2 separate regions of the Homo sapiens genome follow, and region 2 is linked to region 1. Evidence: promoter capture Hi-C in human tissues and cell types (Jung and others, 2019). All regions are on one chromosome and are shown on one strand. Each heading gives the region's core, a stretch centred on a gene start or on the middle of the fragment in contact. The rest is flanking DNA. Distances are from core to core; before and after follow the strand shown.

The links. Contacts are between HindIII fragments. The study calls those that stand out against the background at their distance.
Region 2: a contact is called between a fragment that was not itself captured here and the fragment with the promoter of AGBL4 in region 1, in 1 of the 25 tissues and cell types used here (mesenchymal stem cells).

Annotation. Positions count from the first base shown.
Region 1 is chr1:50,021,199-50,025,442 of GRCh38, reverse strand. AGBL4 (AGBL carboxypeptidase 4) reads left to right here and starts at 1,489. Exons shown (of 14, transcript NM_032785.4): 1 at 1,489-1,680. The coding sequence starts at 1,647. It overlaps LOC105378708 (a long non-coding RNA gene), which reads right to left and starts at 1,422. Exons shown (of 3, transcript XR_947311.3): 1 at 1,321-1,422. The HindIII fragment of the contact is 7,609 bases long and covers 1-4,244 here.
Region 2 is chr1:48,827,707-48,831,860 of GRCh38, reverse strand. The region is part of intron 6 of AGBL4 (AGBL carboxypeptidase 4); the gene reads left to right. Among named protein-coding and RNA genes, the nearest start is that of BEND5, 53 kb to the right of the region's middle. The HindIII fragment of the contact is 3,158 bases long and covers 1-3,000 here.

The DNA of each region.
Region 1 (4,244 bases), core at 240-2,739:
GTTGGAAGAGGAAACTGAGGCTCAGTAAGTTTAAGTGATTTGCCCAAGATTATAAAGCTATAACATCAGTCTGAGTAGAACCCACATCTTTCTCTTTATTTTTCCATCTCCCTATACTTAATGTAGTTCTTTTGTTCTTCTTAGCCCTTATTGACTCCTCCGACACCGAAATTCCCAAAACCCTCACAGCCTTTACATAAGTGTCATTAGGACTGTGGAAAGCACATATATATTCATCTTGATAGTTGTGTGGACATGGCTTGTGAATTTTAAACTGTTCAAATGTGAGAGATAATTCTGATAGCTATTTTCATGTAACTTTCTGTACAAGATTCTTATCCCTGATTTTAATGCAGATGAATGGACAGTTCCATGCATGTGGCCAGCATCTTACTTAGAAGGCCTTCCGGTCCGTCTCTGCATTTCTGCCTCAAGGCTTTCTCTCAAACTCTAGAAGTCTGCTCAGCCCTGGCAAGCATAACCAGGAAATGTGAGAGAGTTCAAGCTGGAAGGTGGAGAGCAACCCTCAACCAATGGAGACAGAAATTAGGAGACAAATGCCCCAGACTCTGTGTTCTTCAGTGGGACAACGGCAGGCACACATTCTACCCTGTTTTTCAGAGTCTGAAGCAAGATTAAAAATAGTTGTCTACTAAAGCAATCAGCTCAATAACACATTTTTCTTAGCGTTTTTCCCCCTTCCCTCTTTCACTCTCTCCACCTCATTTCCTTTCAGATTACCACCATTTTCCATTCAGCAGACATTGACTGAGATCCTACTTTGTGTCATGCACCACGCTGCACTATGGAGTATACAAAGATAAGAGAACAACCGTAGGTATCAGAGAGCTCATGGTCGAGAAGGAAATAATGCATAAAGCATTTGGAATAGAGGGAATATACAGGGGACTGCGGGAGGGCAGAGCTGGTCAGGACGGGTAATGTTCCAGCTTGGTTTTAGACGATAACGGCGTGTCACTACTGAAAGGTGGGAAACAGCAGCCCATATTTACTGAAAAATACGTCAGCAAAAGGATAAGTCTTTTCTGGGGTTGAGGGTTGCTGTCGCAGAGGGGCAAGGAGCCAGAACCCTTTGGGCCTCTGTGTGTTTGGGTTGGGGTGGGCACACAGTTGGTTTTCAGTGCATTTCAGTTGAAGACGAGTAACCCAGGCAAACCAAGGGGAGAAGCTTTGGGAAATCAAGAAACCTGTCCCAAGTCCCCAAAGTTGAGCACCAACCACAGAAAAGCCAGTTTAGCTAGTCTGGGCGGTCAGTACGAGGACCCCGGTCGCCGTCAGGAAAGCGCCATCCCTACAGACCTGGCCCCTGTGCTCTAGGGGTGGCGGAGCCTGCTCAGTTGCCAGGATGCGGTGGATCGGTTGCGGAGGAGCAGCGCCCCGGGGCCCAAGTCCCAGCTCAGGCCCGGGCTCGCGCCGCGGGGGCGGGGCCTTGGACGCACGCTCCTCCCAGGCGTCCCTCCCGCCCTCAGCCGCGCGCCGGCCACCCGCGCGCCTGCCGCCCGTTGCCCAGGCAACCGTCGTGCCGCGTCTTCCTGAGGTAGCTCCTGTCAGCCCACTGATCCCACCACCCGCTCCCTACTGCCCCGCGGTCTTCGCGTGAGCTCGGAGACTGAGGGACAACAAAAATGGCGGAGGGGAGCCAGTCGGCGCCTGAGGCAGGTCTGTGGGGGCGGCCGATCTGGGGAAGGCTGAGGCGGCCAGGCTGTCCTGGGTCTCAGGCAACAGGGGACTCGGGCATGGTCCTACTCCTGAGGAGGCGGTCCTGTATATTTGCGCGGTGGGTTATGACTTCAGGGTCAGGGGTCAAGGGTGGCGTGCACCCCTCTGAATGGCGGGCAGGGACCTCGAAGTCCGGGTGGTGGAGGGGAGTGTGGGTTAGTGTGCACACTTCTGACAGAACATGGGCCCGAAAGGGGCTGGGACCTGAGGGAAGAGACAGGATCTTAATCCTGGGATCACCTGTGGTGAAGGCTAATCCTAGGGCTAGGCTGTGTCATGGAAAGGGTGTACACTGCCCTGTGGGAGCATGGGAGAGATCCCTAAAGGGGCATGATTTGGGCTCGGGGTGGGAGTAGGAGGCTCTGACTCTAAAGAGGGAGGTATACGTGGAAGGTGTGTTACTTTAATATCAGACAGTGCCATGGAAGGGGGAGTTAGAGTATTTGTGTTTGGGGATGTGCAGTGTCCTCAGGGTCACTCCTGGTCACAGAGAAATTTATGCAAATAATTCTTGTATGGGTCCTTAAAAAGACAAGAGGCCTTGAGGGGATACCCGGAGCCCCAGTCCTTTAGGAGCCTACCAAAGGAGGCTGGAGCGTGAGTGTGAGTGTGTGTGGGTTCAATGATCTTGAAGGTCATTCAGAATCAAAGGAGTGCATGTCCACACTTCTGTGGGTAGAAGATAGCCTTTAAGGGACAGGAAGACTGACAGGAAGGGAGACCCAGGATCCTATTCCTGAGGGGACCCCTTGTGCATATGGCTGGGATTTGTGAGATACTGACTTTAAGTTTCTCACAGGGTCATAGAAGAAAGCAAAGGTTTTTACAGTTTTGAGTATGTGGGAGGGAGTTTGCCTCTAAATGAGGCTGACCACTGAAGAACTGGATGTTACGGGATGGCATGGGTGTGTGGGTAGAAAAGAAGTGGCTTTGGGAATATGTGTGTGATGGGTGTTGGCAGTGGTATACATAACCTTGTATATATGTCCTGATCAGGTATTATCATTACAAGAGTGATCCACTTGAATTACTTTGGTCCTGGTGTGTGTGTGTGTGTGTGTGTGTGTGTGTGTGTGTGTGTGTGTGTGGTTATGGTACATACACACCACACCCCAGAAACTGGAACTGAAAACTATGACACCCTCAGAAATAAGTTCGAGGAACCATTATGTCTCAAGGCCTTCATTATTTCTCTTTCTTTCATGGCACCTCTGTTTTATTGAGTAGCTCCTCTACTCATTTTATAGTTTTAGCTCCCTCATAACTTGAACAGGCTTATTCCTTTATTCATTCATCCACTCAACAAATATCGAGTGCTAACTATATGCCTGGCAATAAGTTAGGCATTGGAAATTCCCTGCTTTGGATGAGCTTACCTTGTTCTTCTTTTCCTTTTTTTCTCATAGCATTTATTGCCTTTGAACATACTATTTAATTTACTTGCTTGTATTGCTTATTTCCTGTCTCCTTCCACTACAATGTAAGCTCTACAAGGGCATTGTTTTATCAATACCACATGTCTAGAACTTTTCTAAGTGTATAGTATGTTCTCAATAAAGATTTCTTAAATGAATAACTGAATTACTGATATTGTCTGGAAGTGATATTTTAGCTGACATATGATAGGGATTGGATAATTGAAAAAAAGGGCAAAGAGTGGTCGAGGCAGCAGGAAAACCATGTGCAAAGAACCCAAGCAGGTGGAAACATGTTATGCTGTGTTTGAGGAACTGAAAGGAGACAAGTGTGGGTACATGTGGGGCAATGGGAAGAGAGAAGAGGTACGCTGAAGCCAGATCTTCCAGTACTTTGTAGAATATGATATGAATTTGGGTCAGAAATCCTAAGAATAATGGGAAGCCATTGAAGGCTTTTAAGTGGGAGCATGCCATGATTAGAATAATTAAAAAATAACTCTGGCTACAATGTGGAGAGTACAGAGGATACAAGAGTGGATATAGGATATACTCTCCACCAGCTACATTGAGGAGAGTACAGAGGATACAAGAATGCATATAGAGAGACCTTAGAAGGTAGCAGTGGAGATGAAGAGAAGGAATTGAGAAATACTTAGGAGATAAAATTAATAGGACTTAGTGAAATATGAGGATGATGGAGAAGGAAGTATCGAAGACTACTTCTCATTTTCTAATTTGTTCAACTGGATAGTTAGTGGTGCCATTATTGGGATAGGGAGCATTGGAAGGGGCCTTGGGTAGGTGTGAGAGGAAAGATCATTAATTTGGTTTTAGATAAGTGGAGATTGAGGTATCTTTAGGACATCCAGATAAGCAGAGAGATTGACAAGGCAGTTGAATTTACAAGAAAAGTGTAAACTGGCATAGAGATAATTATTTTGACATAGAAATAATTACTCAAGCCATGGGTGTGGATGAAATTGCCTAGAGGGAGAAGAGGCCTGGGATGAAGTGTTGAGTAGCTGCAATATTTCAATGCCTTCCAAAGAGACTGAGAAGGTGCGACTGGAGAGATTAGAGCACAGC
Region 2 (4,154 bases), core at 172-2,671, 1.2 Mb after region 1:
GGATTTCCTTGCAGAGATGAGGTAATCCTCACTCAGCAAAAAGAAACTGCTTTTCACAACATGTGTTTATTCATTCAGTGAGTTTTTATTGTGTACCGATTATGTATGAGAGAATAGATTTCAATGTAACTAAAAACCTCACCCAACTCATGTCAAAATCTTGCTCAATCCACAAATGCCCTTTCAAGTTAATTCAGCTATCCCATATTAAGTACTACCATGTGCCAAGCACTGAGTTAGTGGCTATGATTCAGAAACAAAGGATACATTGTCCTTGCTTCAAGAAGTTAAAAAATCATATGCTGCAAAAAACTAAATGTTACAGCAGAGGTGCATAAAAAGTATAAAGGGAGCCCAGAGACATCCTTCCCGACAAAGTAAGGCAAGGCTTCAGAAAGGAAGTAATAGTCGAACTTGGCTTCAGCAGAGAGGTAGGATTAACTTGCATCTGACTTACATCTCTGTAGCACTTGGGATTTTGCAAAATATTTTGGTAACAAGAGGCTCTCTCAGATATGGAACCTTGTTCTGGGCCCCAGTAGGAGGGAGGAGCGCCTGGATCATAGCTGGAAGGATGGAGGAGAGGGACTTAGTTCTTCCAGCCCAGAGGGCCAGAGAGCTGAGGTGACTTGCCCAAGGTCACAAAGAAAACAAGCTTATAGACTATACTTCTGCCCTCTACACTAATCTTCCCAGATGTTCATATGGTTCACTCCCTCATGTCATTAAGAATGACTCAAATGGCCTCTCCTCAGAGAGACTTTTACTGAGCCCCAATCCAAAAATTAATTCCTTTCACAGTTCATTTCCTTACCCGAAAATGCTCCCTTTTACTTCACAGGTCTCATTGCTACCTGACATTATATAACCATTTGGGTTTTCTCTATCTTCCCCACAAGATTGTGAGTTGATGGGGACAGGGACCTTGTTTGTCTTGTTCAATGGGAATGTCTAGAACAATGCTTGGTATGTAGCAGGCCCTCAGCAATATTTGTTAGATGAATGAACTTTTACGTTTAAAAAAAATGAAATAATGTTGTGATGAACAGCTTTATTCTTCCATTTTTATACAATTATCCAAATATTTTCTTATGATCTATTCCCAAAAGCAAAATTGCTAGGTGCCCAAAGTTATTTATTGATTAGCTCAGTGACTGGCATACAGCAGATATTTGATTAACATCTACCAAGTGACTGAAATTGAATGTTTTTCTTGAATGGCACCAAATTAACTGATTCCAGATTTGAATTCTGCCAGTATCTAATTGAGCATCTAAACCATTTGTTCATTCATTTATTAACTTATCAGACATTACCTACATTGTGGATACAAAATCGGGGGAATTGGTCCCCTGACCTCAAGAGGCTCTCAGTCTAATGAGGAAGACAGACAGGTTAGGCAATAGTTTGGCACTAAGCTAGAAACTCATTTTCTCTTACCAGTGATCCTGGCTACTTGGTTCTTAACATGTATAACCTCAGGCAATTTGTATGACCCCTCTGAACTTGTGTTTTCTCATCTGTAAAGTAGAGTTGCAATGCCTATTTCACAGGGCTGTGGAGAAGAATGGCATGTGAATGCACATAGAAACACTTGGGATACTGCCTGGCATATAGCAAGAGTTCTACAAATGTTAATTAACATTATTTCTAGCCTCATTTTATAGAAACGACTGAGGCGCAGCAAAAATTCAACTGTTTGTCTAAGGTAAGTAGTATAGATGGAATTTGAATCCAGATCTCCCAACTTCATTCCCAGGCACTCCCTGCATTGTGATTCTGCCTGCATCATTAAGACCTCTTTTCCTGTGGCTGCTACCTTCTCCCAGACTTTGGAACATGGGTACCAAGCCTTGAGTTGAGTCTCTAGGCCTCCTGGTGCTCATCCAACCCTTGCTCCCCTACTCTCTCTTTTTCCTTTGCACTATGCTGACAGCCCCCTAACTGCAACCCCACATGTTAATAGTTTTATGAAAAAAAATGTATTTTGATAATTAAGCTGGTGGAATTTAGAAATCAACAGAACAGTACATTTTCCCAGCAGAGCCAAGAAATTAATTAGGAGCAATTTGCTGTCAGAAACAATTTCCATAATTTTAAGTTTAAAAAAAAGCAGAAAATCATTTTTGTGGGTTTTTTTTTTCCTGCTTTCCATTCCAAAGTGGTTTAACTCCTGGAAAAACAAATTCTTCCAACTACCCTATTTTCTGTTCTTCAGTCTCTTCCCCTGAGAGATGTTTCAGCCTCTCTCTGACTGGTTATATTCAAGGGTGAGGAGGAATAATATGAGACAGAACCTTTTTGATCCCCTCCTTCACCCCATAGGGCAGAACTTATACTTTTCCAATGGCATGATTATAAAATGTGCACATTCCTATCTCAGTAATGGGGGGATATATGATGCCTTTGGAAAGGAGACTGAAAGGGGAGAAACAGAGGTCATGGTACACTGAATGAGGGTCCTAGTGGGCCACCAGGCAGACAAGACTGCTCTATAGAGAGGCATTAAAGCATTGTGGCCAACGGCATAGGCTGTAACTCTGGAGCCAGACTGACTAGGATCACATCTCAACACTGTCCTTTTACTATCTATGCGATCCTGGTATAGTTCTTTAATTTCTCTGTGACTCAGTTTCCTGATAAAGTAGCTCTGATGGTTTATGATGGTCCACCAAGCTCTTATGTCCACACTAAGACCACAATGCCTGGCATATGGCAAGTGCTCATGACTGTTTCTGATGATGAGTGGCAGGAACAAGCTCCCAAAAAGAGAAGTGTAAGCTGTCACTGGGTTCATCTTAGACCTTGGACACTCTAGTTCCAGACTCAGAATGGCCAAAACTAAAGATCTATTCTATCTCAACAACCCTTTATTTTGGAAGGCATCATAGCAAAGAGCAATGGTTGTGAGATATCTTACACACATACACACACACACGTACACAATGCTAAGAATAGTGAAAATACCAAGGTTTGCAAATGATCTACTTTTTTATATGAGGTAAAGCAGATTTAAAGTTACTTCTATGATAATGATAATGTCACTCTTCATTTTCTTACAATTCAAATATGAGAGGAAAAAAAGGGAGTTGAGTTATAACTAGAGCTAAGTAATGGATTTTAACTGGCAGAACTGGCAGCCTAGAATTATCCTTAACACAACCTGTTGTGAACAAGCATTACTGTTGCACAGTTAATAGTTTTGACTGAGTTGTTATCATGTATTATTTCCATGATATTTTTTAGTTTCATCTAAATCTGAATGTATCAGTCAGTACATAACCAAGAAAAAAAATCACTCCAAATATTTGAAACAAAGAGGATTCAATGCAGGGAACTGGCACCAGTTGAGAAGCCAAACAGGAAATGGTAAAGAAACTCAGAGATTAGCAACAATAGGAAGATACTCTCACCCTGGGCATAAGGGTCAAAGGGAGAACAGGTGGCACTGGATCCTAGGAGCCATGGTTACCTAGCAAAAGATAGAGCCTTGGCAACCTCCATGGCTCTATCCAGCAAGTGCTAGAGCAATGGAGGAGACTCAGCTGCTGCCAGAGACACCTCTATGGTGGTAGGAGGGGAGTAATCCGTCTTCTCTCTTCTACTGTCTGATGTTTTGGCATGAGGTGGGAGAGATTTGAACCCCATTTTCTTTTTTTCTTTTTTTTTTTTTTTGAGATGGAGTTGCCCAGGCTGGAGTACAGTGGCGCAATCTTGGCTCACTGCAACCTCCACCTGCTGGGTTCAAGCAATTCTTCTGCCTCAGCCTCCCAAGTAGCTGGGACTACAGGTGCATACCACCATGCCCGGCTAATTTGTGTGTGTGTGTGTGTGTGTGTGTGTGTGTGTGTGTGTGTGTGTGTGTATTTTTAGTAGAGACGGGGTCTCACATGCTGGGCAGGCTGGTCTCAAACTCCTGACCTCGTGATCTGCCCGCCTCGGCCTCCCAAAGTGCTGGGATTACAGGCATGAGCCGCCGCTCCTGGCCCCCATTTTCAATACTTACTAGCAATGCAGCTCCCTGCTAGTCCCCAGCCTGTTTTCACTTTTGTGACTCCATTTGTAAAAGGGAATATCCACCACATGAGGTTTGTCTCATCCCCCAGCCTGTGGAAAATTTCCCAGCTGTCATGATTCTGTACAGCTAAGACTGT